5 separate regions of the Homo sapiens genome follow, and regions 1, 2, 3 and 4 are each linked to region 5. The links are contacts of gene promoters, found by promoter capture Hi-C in human tissues and cell types (Jung and others, 2019). All regions are on one chromosome and are shown on one strand. The core of a region is centred on a gene start or on the middle of the fragment in contact, and the rest is flanking DNA. Distances in the headings are between cores, read along the strand shown. Region 1 overlaps FAM114A1 (family with sequence similarity 114 member A1). Region 2 overlaps PDS5A (PDS5 cohesin associated factor A). Region 3 overlaps PDS5A (PDS5 cohesin associated factor A). Region 4 overlaps FAM114A1 (family with sequence similarity 114 member A1). Region 5 holds the start of KLB (klotho beta).

What was found. Contacts are between HindIII fragments. The study calls those that stand out against the background at their distance.
Region 1: a contact is called between a fragment that was not itself captured here and the fragment with the promoter of KLB in region 5, in 1 of the 25 tissues and cell types used here (liver).
Region 2: a contact is called between a fragment that was not itself captured here and the fragment with the promoter of KLB in region 5, in 2 of the 25 tissues and cell types used here (dorsolateral prefrontal cortex and heart right ventricle).
Region 3: a contact is called between a fragment that was not itself captured here and the fragment with the promoter of KLB in region 5, in 1 of the 25 tissues and cell types used here (stomach).
Region 4: a fragment that was not itself captured here is called in contact with the fragment with the promoter of KLB in region 5 in 1 of the 25 tissues and cell types used here (lymphoblastoid cells).

What each region holds. Positions count from the first base shown.
Region 1 is chr4:38,890,628-38,893,327 of GRCh38, reverse strand. FAM114A1 (family with sequence similarity 114 member A1) reads right to left here. Exons shown (of 15, transcript NM_138389.4): 4 at 1,498-1,585. Among named protein-coding and RNA genes, the nearest start is that of MIR574, 24 kb to the right of the region's middle. RefSeq lists an enhancer at 2,216-2,385. The HindIII fragment of the contact is 5,098 bases long and covers 1-2,700 here.
Region 2 is chr4:39,936,826-39,939,525 of GRCh38, reverse strand. All of the region lies in intron 2 of PDS5A (PDS5 cohesin associated factor A), which reads left to right. It also overlaps the pseudogene RNA5SP159. Among named protein-coding and RNA genes, the nearest start is that of PDS5A, 40 kb to the left of the region's middle. The HindIII fragment of the contact is 6,528 bases long and covers 1-2,700 here.
Region 3 is chr4:39,954,305-39,957,004 of GRCh38, reverse strand. The region is part of intron 2 of PDS5A (PDS5 cohesin associated factor A); the gene reads left to right. Among named protein-coding and RNA genes, the nearest start is that of PDS5A, 22 kb to the left of the region's middle. The HindIII fragment of the contact is 7,115 bases long and covers 1-2,700 here.
Region 4 is chr4:38,874,039-38,876,738 of GRCh38, reverse strand. All of the region lies in intron 2 of FAM114A1 (family with sequence similarity 114 member A1), which reads right to left. Among named protein-coding and RNA genes, the nearest start is that of MIR574, 7.4 kb to the right of the region's middle. The HindIII fragment of the contact is 3,064 bases long and covers 1-2,700 here.
Region 5 is chr4:39,405,592-39,408,291 of GRCh38, reverse strand. It overlaps KLB (klotho beta), which reads right to left and starts at 1,362. Exons shown (of 5, transcript NM_175737.4): 1 at 518-1,362. The coding sequence starts at 1,342. The HindIII fragment of the contact is 19,436 bases long and covers 529-2,700 here.

The DNA of each region.
Region 1 (2,700 bases), core at 131-2,630, 510 kb after region 5:
CCATATTATTTACTTTTTCATGACTTATTCCAATTAAAACAATCTTTTAGAACCTCCTTTTTAGTTTTTGGCTTAGAAAGCATGTCACTTCTAAGTGCCACCAGTGGCAAGATCCTTTTGATAGCCACTAAGTTCAAACATTTTTCCAAGGACAGAGGATGCCTGCAGGTGCTTGTCCTCACCCTTGTGAAGAGATAGCATCCTGTTCAGAAAACAAAACAGGCGCCTCTACTTGAATTTAGTTAAATTTGTCATCTGCATATGTGGTACTCAAGGCATAGCCATCCCCTTAATAAGCAATAGAGAAAATCTGCTCTCCAGGCTTACCAGAGAGGTCAACATTTATTTGGCCATTGCTACTTCTTCCCAGAGCCTTCCTGAGCAAACTGATATTTGACAGAGATGGAATTAGAGGAATGCAATCTATCCATTCTTCCAGGCAGCCTAAGCTCTGTCAAGTTAGATATCTGGCCCTTAACACTGTGGTCATGGTCCACTGGGGTGGGGCAAAAGGCCTGAAGACCTTCCTGGTTTTAGGAGTAACAGTGAAGTGGACCAATTCATGGCCTATCGCAAGGTCCTCATGGCCATGGACTGCACCTTAGAATACCTGAAGTGGATGATGTGAAAACTCTGTTACCTGTGGCTTCCCCTATCTTCTTATCTTCCACCTTCAAGATGAAATGCCTTTGCTAAATTATCTTAGACATATTGATGTTATACCTTCAGTTCTCATGAAGAGAGAATATAAGAAATGGTAACATGAAGAATATCATGACAAATTTGCACTCAGGAAGACACTACACTGTCCATCATATTTTCTCTTTGTATAAGAACAAATACAGGAAATTTCTTTAAAAATTTAAAACCAGAAAAATATATTTATTTAAATTAAAATTTTGTTTTCAAAGAGAAATAAATAATGTACTGGCAGCCAAGAAGCTCAGAGTTGAGGTCAATACTCAATTACAAAAACTCTATTAGCCATGGGATGTATAAAATATGTATCCTCCCTACCAGCACATTGTTTTCTCCTTATATTGTAATATCCTGCTAATGAAATGCCTTTTATCAAGATATCTCAAATCCTTTTTGGGAGTAGATGCGTTGTGCACTAAAAAAATTCAAGTGGGACGATAAACACGAAGCTTTAAGAATATATTATACTTTAAAAGACCATATAATATAGTGGCTAAAAGCCATACTACTTGGCTTTTAAATTGCAACCCAGACATTCCTGACTTTGGTCAAGGTCTTAGTCTCTCTCTGATTAGCTTCCTTACCTGTAAAGTGCAGCAAACAACAGTTCCTCCATATAGGGTTATTTTGAGGAACAAATGTATTGGAGGAATAAATGAAGCACTTAGAATAGTAAGCACTAAACATGGTTTGCTCACGGGCTAATGTTAAACTCTATTAGTATACAGTACGATCAAAACGTCCTATCCTATTAGGCTTTGGTACTTTGTCTATTCCAATGCAACATACAATGCTTACCTACTGTGGCAGATGCTGACGACAGCAGAGATTTGCCCCAGGATCCCCAGCCTGCCCATCCTCCTCCACTTGGAGGGGAATCCACAGCCTGGAGAAAAACAAATTAGCCACAGGTCAGAAATTCAGTATATCTCTGAATGGAAAAACACCTATTGGTTTGAAACAAAGAGGAGGTTTGGAAAAGAATCACCAACAACCGTATCTAATTGGCTTATAGTTTATAAGGGTCATAAAAGAATATCCCAAACCACACTGCAATGTGTACTTTGGAACCAAATTGATTAGTGCTGATGTTGGCTTCTGAAGGCTTGGTTTGAAGTGAGAAGGGAGTTTGATGTTAACTGAGCCTCGATTCTCTCTTATTATTTAGAAGACAGGGAAAAGGCTGCATGGGAAAAAGATACGCATGAGGGCACAAGAGGGATTTGAAAAAGTTCAAAATGATCTGGACCCAGGCAATTCTTACAGGGCTTAAAAAATGTGCTCTTCAAGGTAGAGTTAACTTTTAAACTCTGGGGCAGTAGGCAGGTGCTTTGGCATGGATGATGGGCAAAGTGTCTAAAAAGCGTCAATACACCTGGCGATGGATGGGCAGTAGTGACAGGAAGGCTTGCAAGGTAGAAACCTTTGATTCAAGGTGCCCTGCTTCACTCATAGTGACTCCTATAACACAGGGATAAGACTGTCCCTGACCTCAGTGGATTCCAATTCGTTTGCCTAGGTTTTTGGAATTGGAACTGAGAGACTGTGGTTCAGTGTGAACTGTGTGCATGAACAGAAGTTGAAAACTCAGGCTATGTGGATGACCCTGTTATATCCACCACGCAGACTAAGAATTAAGAGAAGGCAGAGTGAGCAGAATGGAGACTGGCTTAGAGCTGCTGTTTGGATTCCTGACAGCTTCTCAGTCCCTGGTTTCTGTCCCTCTGAAGGCCCTGCTGCTTTCTGATCTTTGGGTTCTATGAGATTCTCTCATATTCTTGTTCATTTTTTTAAATGTTTTATTCACTGATATACTCTCAGAGCTTAGAAGAGTGCTTGGAATATAATGAATGCTTAATAAATATTTGTTGAATAAATGGCTGAAACTCATCCATTTTCTCAGGTATGCGTGTTTCTGTTACTTGCAACCAATGAGTCCTAACTCAAGTAGGGAACCACAGCTTTCTCTTTCTATCTGGGAACACATTCTAGAAAACAAGG
Region 2 (2,700 bases), core at 89-2,588, 530 kb before region 5:
ACTTTGCCCAGCCGCAGTAAAGCTATTTAAAAAAAATTTTTTTTTTCATTTTAGGTTTTGAGAAAGGGTCTCACTCTGTCGCCCAGGCTGGACTGCAGTGGTGTGATCAGAGGTCATTACAGCCTCACCCTCCTAGGTTCAAGCGATCCTCCCATCTCATTCTCTTGAGTAGCTGGGACTACAGGCGCATGTCTCCATGCACAGCTAATTTTTATTTATTATTATTGGTAGAGATGAGGTCTTGTTATGTTGCCCAGGTTGGTCTCCAACACTTGGGCTCAAGCGATTTTCCTGCCTCGCCCTCCCAAAGTGTGATTACGGGCATGAGCCACTGTACAATGTACAACTATAGCTCAGCCATAGCCTTGATCTAGGCTCAAGCCATCCTCTTGCCTCAGCCTCCCAAGTAGCTGGGACTACAGGTATTGGCCAACATGACTGGCTTTTTTCTAGTTTTACTTTTTCAATTTTATATGGCTAGAATCATACTATATGGTTCCTTGTGTTACTGTGTCTTCAGTGTTATGTTTGAGTTTTGTATTATTGCTTTTTTTTTTTAGATGGAGTCTCGCTGTGTTGCCAGGCTGGAGTGCGGTGGTGTGATCTTGGCTCACTGCAACCTCGGACTCCCTGGTTCAAGCGATTCTTCTGCCTCAGCCTCCTGAGTAGCTGGAATTACAGGCATGCGCCACCACGCCCAGCTAATTTTTGTATTTTTAGTAGAGATGGGGTTTCACCATGTTGGCCAGGATGGTCTTGATCTCCTGACCTTGTGATCCATCGGCCTCAGCCTCCCAAAGTGCTGGGATTACAGGCATGAGCTACTGCGCCTGGCCTAACTTATATAGTATTTCATTATACAGTTTAATCAGTCTTCTATTGACATTTTTCACTTGTAGTTTTTTGGCTTTTACAAACCACATTGCTGTTGTTAAAATAAAAACTTCAGACATATATATATATGTATTTTTTGAGACAGAGTCTTGCTCTGTCACCCCGGCTGGAGTGCAGTGGCACGATCTTGGCTCACTACAACCTCCGCCTCCCGGTTCAAGTGATTCTCCTGCCTCAGCCTCCCGAGTAGCTGGGATTACAGGCACCTGCCACCACGCCTGGCTGATTTTTGTATTTTTAGTAGAGATGGGTTTTCACCATGTTGGCCAGGCTGGTCTTCAACTCCTGACCTCGGGTGATCCACCCACCTCGGCCTCCCAAAGTGCTAGGATTACAGGTGTGAGCCACCGTGCCCGGCCCAGACACATTAAATTTAACAGAATTTAATTGAGCAAAGAATGATTCACAAACTGGGCAGCCCCCTCCAAACTTGAGTAGGTTCAGAACAGTTCCAGAGCTGCCAAGTGGTCAGATAACATTTATGGACAGAAAAAGGAAAGTGATATACAGAAAACGAAAGTGAGGTATAGAAATAGGTGAATTGGTTACAGCTCAGTGTTTGCCTTATTTGATCACGGTTTGAACAGTCAGCCACCTGTGATTGGCCACAATTCTGTGTGATTGGTAGGAGAGTAGGTTACAGTCTTTTTACAATCTGGTTAGGTACAGCTCACTATGTATGGAGAATCCTTTAGGCTGAATTTATGCAAGGAAGCAGCTTTAGGCTAAACTTAACACTCCAGTCATCCTTGTATACATACTCTAGCTGCTTTAGGGCACCACCAGAGGTGAAATTGTTGAATCATTGGGCATGTATGTCTTCTACTTAACTGAAAGCAGCAAAGTGGTTCTACCAATTTACATTTCAATTAAAAAGTGAGTGAGAGTTCTCATTTGCTATGTTGGACTTACAAAAAGTTCATTTGGCTGGACACAGTGGCTTACACCACTTTGGGAAGTCAAGGCAGGAGAATCACCTGAGGCCAAGAGTTGGAGACCAGCCTAGGCAACATAACAAGACCCCATCTCTACCAATAATAATAAATAAAAATTAGTTGCACATGGTGGCATTCGTCTGTGGTCCCAGCTACTCAGGAGACCGAGGCAGGAGGATCACTTGAGCCAGGGAGGTTGAGGCTGTTGTAATCCCTGATCACACCACTGCAGTCCAGCCTGGGCGACAAAGTGAGAACCTTTCTCAAAAAATAAAATTAAAAAAAATTTTTAATAGCTGTATTGAGGTGTAATTGAATTACTGAACAATAATTTGGACATATTTAAATTATATGACATATAATAATCGATCTGATCTTTGTTCTGATTCTTGGCACAGAGCCTCAAAAACCCTTGGAATTTCCCAAGTGAGAGTGTCTTTGTTACGCTAATGAGGCAGCTCCTGGCAGTGCCACTAGATAGCTTCAGGATGGGGCTGGTCACTTAAATTAGAGGATTGAAACTTTCTCCCAGGAGAAGAGGGAGGCTGGAGATTGAGTTCAGTCTTGATTTTATCATTCATGCCTGCGTCATAAAGCCCAGTGAATCCTGTGAACACTAAAGCTCAGGGGAGGTTAGTGGTTGGTGAACACAGTGATATGCTGGGAGGATTACATGTCCAGATTCAATGAGAAGAGTATACGAAGCTCTGTGTCCCCATCCCATCCACACACCCCTCTTCACCCCCAAGACTTTGGCTGATGTGTCTCTTCAGTTTGACTGTTCTTGAGTTACATACTTTTCTTCCACCTTGTTATTTTCTGTTTCTTTCTTTTTCCTTCTAGCTCACAGCACCTGGTATTCCCCAGTGAT
Region 3 (2,700 bases), core at 13-2,512, 550 kb before region 5:
TTCTGGCAGAAGTTATTTAGAAAATGTCTTTTGGCTGGGTGAGGTGGCTCACGCCTGTAATCCCAGCACTTTGGGAGGCTGAGGCAAGGCAGATCACTTGAGGCCAGGAGTTTGAGACTAGCGCGGGCAACATGGCAAAACCTCTTCTCTACAAAAAATACAAAAATTAGCTGGATGTGGTGCAGGCGCCTATAGTCCTGCCCACTCTGGAGGCTGAGGCAGGAGGATTGTTTAAGCCAAGGAGATTAAGTGTACAGTGAACCATAATTGTGCCGCAGCACTCCAGCCTGGGTGACAGAGTGAGAACCTGTCTCCAAAAAAAAAAAAGTAAGAAAATCTGTCTTTCTTCTTGAAGCATATACCTATAAAGCTTTGAAGAAAGGGTAAAAACCAGGTAGTAATAAAATAAAATTGTCTTTAGATGTTTTTGAAATAATGTTGTATAGCTTTGTTTGCTGTGTTCAGTTCTCATATTTCCTTGATATTTTATCAGACTTTTTTTTTTTTTTTTTTTGAGACAGTCTCGCTCTGTCACCCAGGCTAGAGTGCAGTGGCGCAATCTTGGCTCACTGCAACTTCTGCCTCCTGGGTTCAAGCGATCCTCCCACCTCAGCCTCCCAAGTAGCTGGGACTACAGGCATGAGCCACCATACCTGGCTAATTTTTGTATTTTTTGGTAAACATAGGGTTTCAGCATGTTGGCCGGGCTAGTCTCCAACTCTTGATCTCAAGTGATTTGCCTGCCATAGCCTCCCAAAAGTGCTGGGATTACAGGTGTGAGCCATCGCACCCTGCCAAATGTTTAATACTGTAATCCACTGCTGCTATCTCAATTGTTCTATACGTTTTTCTTATACTGTTTTTTAAAATTGTTCTTTTTTTTTTTTGAGAGGCAGTCTCAGTCTGTTTCTTAAGCTGGAGTGCAGTGGCGAGATCGCAGCTCACTGCAACCTCTGCCTCCCATGTTCAAGCAATCCTCCCACGTCAGCCTCCCGAGCAGCTGGGACTACAGGTGTGTGCCACCACCATGTCTGGCTAATTTTTGTATTTTTAGTAGAGATGGGGTTTCGCCATGTTGGCCAGGCTGGTCTCGAACTCCTGACCTCAGGTAATCCACCTGCCTTGGCCCCCCAAAGTGCTGTGATTACAGGTGTGAACCACCACACCGGCCTTAACTGTTCAAATTTTTAAACAGACTTTTTTTTTTAGGGCAGTTTTAGGTTCACAGCCAAATTGCTGGAATGTACAGAGTATTCCCAACAAACCCCCTGGACTCACTCCTCAGTAACACTCCCGTCCCCCAGGAAGACTTCCCCTCCCCAGTCACACATGCCTCCCACAGTAATGCCTCCCCTCAGTCACCTTCCAGAGTGGTACATTTGTTTGTTTTGTTGTTGTTTTTTTATGACAGAGTCTCGCTCTGTCACCCGGGCTGGAGCACAGTAGCATGATCTCAGCTCACTGCAACCTCCGCTCCCCCGGGTTCAAGCAGTTCTCCCACCTCAGCCTCCCAAGCTGGGATTACAAGCATCCGCCACGACACCTGGGTAATTTTTTGTATTTTTGGTAGAGACGGGGTTTCACCATGTTGGTCAGGCTGGTCTCGAACTCCTGATTTCAGGTGATCTGCCCACCTCAGCCTCCCAAAGTGCTGGGATTACAGGTTTGAGCCACCACGCCCGGCCCTAGAGTGCTATATTTCTAAACCAACATCACAACATTATCACTCAAAGTCCATATTCGTGTATTGTTTCCTTGTATATTTTTCAGCATGGTAAATCCCAAATGTTCTATTCATGTAATGCTCTTGGTTTAAACTCTAAGTTAGATTTAGCATATTGTCCTTTAATATTCCTAATTTTGGCTTTTCTTGTTTGGCCAGGGTGAGCTCTAAGTGCTGATTTACTTTAAATCCTGATGATAATCAGCATGCTTTATTTATTTATTTATATTTTTTGTTTGTGACAGGGTCTCGCTCTGTCACCCAGGCTGGCTGGCGTTCAGTTTCATGATCATGGCTCACTGCTGCCTCCACCTCCTGGGTTCAAGCCATCCTCCCATCTCAGCCTCCCAAGTAGTAGAGACTACAGGCATGTGCTACCACGCCTAGCTAATTTTTGTATTGTTTGTAGACACGGGGTTTGTCATGTTGCCCAGGTCTCAAACTCCTGGACTCACGTGATCCTCCTGCCTCAGCCTCCCAAAGTGTTCATGCCTATTAACAGGCATGAGGCTCTCTGCCTGGCCTCATAGTTATTTTAACGTCTCTGTCTGATAGCTTTAGCGTTTGGTCCACCTCTGTTTCTGTTTTTTTTTTTTTTTTTTTTTTTTTTTACTTATCTCTTGACAATGGGTACTTATTTATGTCTTGACAATGTATTTCAGGCTGGGCACGGTGGCTAACACCTGTAATCCCAGCACTTTGAGAGGCCAAGGCGGGTGGATCACCTGAGGTCAGGAGTTCAAGACCAGCCTGGCCATCATGGTGAAACCCCACCTCTACTAAAATAATACAAAAATTAGCCGAGGGTGGTGGCACATGCCCGTAATCCCAGCTACTCAGGAGGCCGAGGCAGGAGACTCGCTTGAACCTGGGAGGTGGAGGTTGCAGTGAGCTGAGATCGTGGCATGTTTTGTTTTTTTAAGAGACAGGGTCTCGCTCTGTCACCAAGGCTGAGGTGCAGTGGCACCGTCATGGCT
Region 4 (2,700 bases), core at 48-2,547, 530 kb after region 5:
CATGGACACTGATTTCAGACTTCTGACCTCCAGAACTCCAAGAGAATAAGTCTGTGTTGGCAAAAGCCGTGAAGTTAGTTGTAATTTGTCACAGCACTGATAGGAAGCTAACAGAAACCTACAGGGCTATCTTTAAACTTTCCTGGAGCTCTTACTTGGCATGAAAGACTACGCCTATGGGAACTAAGAGTAATACCTGTATCTTTAAAATTATTGACTCTGGCTTTATTAATTATATTTGTAGCAATAATGAGAATAAGCATAGGAAGGCAGGGTGCAATGGCTCACACCTGTAATCCCAGCACTTTGGTAGGCTGAGGTGGGTGAATCACATGAGGCCAGGAGTTCAAGACCAGCCAAGGCCAACATGGTGAAACCCTGTCTCTACTAAAAATACAAAAATTAGCTGGGCATGGTGGCATGCACCTGTAGTCCCAGCTACTTAGGAGGCTGAGGCACAATAATTGCTTGAACCTGGGGGGTGGAGGTTGCAGTGAGCTGAGATCGTGTCACTGCACTCCAGCCTGGGCGACAAAGCGAGACCGTCTCAAAAAAAAAAAAAAAAAAAAGAAAAAAGAATAAGTCTAGAAAATACCTGAGCACTTATCAAAAAAAATACTTGCCATTTAGCTTTGTAACATCTTTGTCAGAAATTCACAGTGAGAAAGAGACCTATACACACACAGTATTCCTTGTTGGGGACCAGCTGATGAAGGTCTAGACCATGGTTTAGTCAAGGATAAACTTAAAGGGTAAGAAGTGAGGTAGAAACCAAATAAGGAATGTAGCCATTAAAGCAGAAAACTCTTTTAAAGCTTACAAATTATTGATATCATGTAGAACAGCACTATTCAATGGAACTTTCGGTGGTGATAAAAATGTTCTGTCTCAACAAACTAAGCATTGAAGGAACATATCTCAAAGTAATAAGAGCCTTTTATGACAAACCCACAGCTAACATCATACCGAAGGGGCAAAAACTGGAAGCATTCCCCTTAGGAACCAGAACAAGACGAGGATACCCACTCTTACTACTTCTATTCAACACAATAGTGGAAGTCCTAGCCAGAGCAATCAGACAAGAGAACGAAATAAAATAGGAAGAGAGGAAGACAAACTATCTTTGCAGATGATATGATTCTACACCTAGAAAATCCCATAGTCTCTGCCCAAAGGCTCCTAGATCTGATAAACAACTTCAGCAAAGTTTCAAGATACAAAATCAATGTACAAAAATCAGTAGCATTTCTATACACCAATAATGTCCAAGCTGACGGTGAAATCAAGAATGCAATTCCATTCACAATAGCCACAAAAAGAACAAAATACGTAGGAATACAGCTAATCAGGGAGATGAAAGAGCTCCACAATGAGAATTACAAAACAATGCTCAAAGAAATCAGAGATGACACAAATGGAAAAATTTTCCATGCTCATGGATAGGAAGAATCATTATTGTTAAAATGGCCATACTACCCAAAGCAATGTACAGATTCAATGCTATTCTTATCAAACTACCAATGATGTTTTTCATAGAATTAGAAAAAAATATTCTAAAATTCATGTGGAACCAAAAAAGGGCCCAAATAGACAAAGCATTCCTAAGCAAAAAGAACAAAGCTGGAGACATCACACTACCCAACTTCAAACTATACTACAAGGTTATAGTAACCAAAACACCATGGTACTGGCACAAAAATAAAACACATAAGCCAACAGAACAGAATAGAGAACTCTGAAATAAAGCCACACACCTAAACCATCTGATCTTTGACAAAGCCAACAATGACAAACAATGGGGAACGGACTCCCTATTCAATAAATTGTGCTGGGATAACTGGCCAGCCATATGCAGAAGATTGAAACTGTTCCCCTTCCTTATACCATATACAAAAATAAACTCAAGATGGACTAAAGACTTAAATGTAAAACCCAAAACTATAAAAACTCTAGAAGAAAACCTAGGAACATAGGAAACACTATCCTGGATATCGGCCCTGGCAAAGATTTCATGACAAAGACTCCAAAAGCAATTGCAGCAAAAACAAAAATTGACAAGTGGGAGCTAATTAAACAAAAGAGCTTCTACACAGCAAAAGAAACTACCAACAGAATAAATAGACAACTTACATAATGGCAGAAAATATTTGCAACTATGCATGTGACAAAGGTCTAATATCCAGAATCTGTAAGGAACTTAAATCAACAAGCAAAAAACAAAACAAAAACCATTAAAAAATGGGCAAATGACATAAATAGGTACTTCTCAAAAGAAAACATATAGGTGGCCAACAAGCATATGAAAAAATGCACACCACCACTAATCATTAGAGAAATGCAAATAAAAACCATAATGAGACACCATCTCACACATAGATTTTCCCAATAACTCAGAGCTGTCATTTACCACGCTTTCACCCTCTCAAGAATATATAGTATCAACAGCTATCATTTATTGAGTGCTTACTGTATCCATGCTCTTTAAATGTATTATCTCCTGTGAGTTGAATGTTATCAGCTCCATTTTACAGACGAGGAAACTGAAGCTCAGAAGTCACACTTTTAGTAAATTCTACATTTGAAATTTGAACCCGTGTCTGACTTTGAGACTGAACCACATCAGAGCCCTATCAGCAATGCCATCTGCCTCTTTTCTTACATTCAGTCAGTGGCCAAATCCTAGAGGCTCTTTATTGAGAA
Region 5 (2,700 bases), core at 113-2,612:
CAAATAAAATCAAAAGTGAAGTATATTTAAATTTCTGTATTTAATATGCATGAGTTAGCTAACATTTATTTGGCTTACTTATTTACTTACTTTATTTACTTATTAGCTAAGTTAGCTATACTTAACAACAAATACATATTTGAAATGGTTGTGCCTTAAGATAATTCTGAAATGATTGCATGTTGTCAGAAAAGGGTTCCAACAATTAAATTTATGAAGCACTGTTTTCCCACAGAATGAAAGTAAGCTCATATATTCACACTGTAGTGTATAATGGTAGATTTAAAAATAGCCTCAAAGTGCAACTTTTGAAAAAACTAATTGGATTAATACATTAAAAATACCTTAGATAAATAAAACATACACTAACTTAAATGCAAAATTTGAGGATAGATCTTTTGAATTAGCTTAAAATCAGTTGCCTTGATTTCAGTGAAGAGAATTACTGAGGCAGAAGGTAAATTCTTAAATTCTTAGTGTTTTCTGAAGCTATAAGAAGAAGCTAGCTGTACAGTACCTTGATCAAGTTGTGTCCCACAGTGTAGACAGCTGCTAAATTTCCCTTCTCTCCAGGGGCATGCATACCTGTCCCATACCCATGCCAAGCCACTAGATATGGGTTGTGAATTGTAATCCAATATTTGACACGGTCCCCAAACATCTGGAAACAGTATGTGGCATAGTCATTGAAGATATCTATTATGGTATCATTTTTCCACCCCCCATATTTTTCTTGTAGTGCCAAAGGCAAATCCCAGTGGTATAAAGTAACTATAGGTTCAATGTTTCTAAGCACTAGAGCGTCCAGAAGAGTACTGTAGTACTGCAGACCTTTTGCGTTGGCAACTGTTACTATTCCATCGGGGAAAAGCCTTGGCCAGGAAATTGAAAATTGATAAAAAGAAACTCCTATAAAATCCAGGGCTGATAAGTCTTTTTCCAGAAAAATATAACTGTCACTGGAACCATTCGTGCTGCTGACATTTTTAAGGTGTGTGTGGATGAAATGATCCCATATAGAAGGTCCTTTTCCATCCTTCTTCCAACTCCCTTCCACTTGCAATGCTCCAGTCCCAATACCCCAGAAAAAGTTTTTAGGGAAAGTGTCATAGAGAAACAGCTGACTTTCATTTACCGGAGTAAAATTAGGATTTTTAGACCATATAGCTCTTCCATCTCCAGAGAATCCAGTAACAGCTCGTAGCAGAATAAGTGCTGACAGGATGACAGATCTTTGCAATCCCCCGTTGGACATTGTATTCCTATAGCGTGTGGTTATTTCATCAGTGCTGAAGAAAATCCATTCATTCCCTGGAGATCCTGCCGCACAGCCTGGCTTCATTTGCCACCAACTGCTGGACTGTCTTATCAAAGCTTCAGTAAAAGCTTGTGATTGTAAAGCTCTGTCAATGATTAGCTTGAACTGGGAGACTGAGGATGGGTCATAGAGAGCAACGTAATTTGAGGGAGGTGGCCCTATTGCAGTCACCAACGCGTCTCCTTCTCTCTCATTATGGAAAAAATTAGATGAAAATGCATCGGTGACAAGAGTTTGAATGTGTAACTAACACATATGTAAACACTGGATTAAAATCACATTATTTTCCGTGTAGCCTTTCATATTGACCCAAATCTTTTCTGAATGTTTTGAACATTATTGAATAAGGTATATAGCTTTTCTATTTTTAGAGTTTTTGTGTGGTAATTTTATAATCTCATATATCAAGAAAAATAACATATACAAGTATATAGCATTCCTACATACCAATAGTAAAGAATTAGAAAACACAATAAGAAATTACACTTCTCCACAAAATTATAACGCATCTAAGAACAATCTTAATAAATGTTACCTATTTTAGGAAAATTGCAAAAATGTATTGGTAGATTTGAGAGAAGACTTGAATGAGAAAATATAGCACTTTGTGGATGGAAAAATGAAATACTTTTCAATTTAATACATTTAACTTAACTAAAATCCTCTAATCTCTAATTTTATTTTTTATTTTATTTATTTAACTTAACTAAAATTCTCTAATCTCTAATTTTTTAATTAATTAATTAATTTTTAATAAGAGTCTTGCTTTGTAGCCTAGGCTGGAGTGCAGTGGTGTCATCACAGCTCACCGCAGCCTCAACTTCCCAGGCTTAAGCAATCCTCCCTCCTCAGCCTCCAAGTAGCTGGGACAACAGGCACATGCCACCATGCCCAGCTGATTTTTGATTTTTTGGTAGAGGTGGGGTCTAGCTATGTCCCCCAGGCTGGTCCTGAACTCCTGGGCTCAAACAGCCCTTCTGCCTCGGCCTCCTAAAGTGCTTGGGATTATAGGTGTGAGCCACCATGCCTGGCCTAATCCCAAATTTTAGTTCAAGAAAATTATTACGAAAGGCCAGGCACAGTGATTCATGGCTATAATCCCACCACTTTGGGAGGCCAAGGCAGGCAGATCACTTGGGGTCAGGAGTTTGAGACCAGCCTAGCCAACATGTTGAAACCCCGTCTCTATTAAAAATACAATTAGCTGGGCACGGTGGTGGGCACCTGTAATCCCAGCTACCTGGGAGGCTGAGGCAGGAGAATCTCTTGAACCTGGGACGTGGAGGTTGTAGTGAGCTGAGATCGCACCACCGCACTCCAGCCTGGGCAACAGAGCAAGACTCGGTCTCAAAATAAAAAAAAAAAAAAAAAGAGAAAATTAT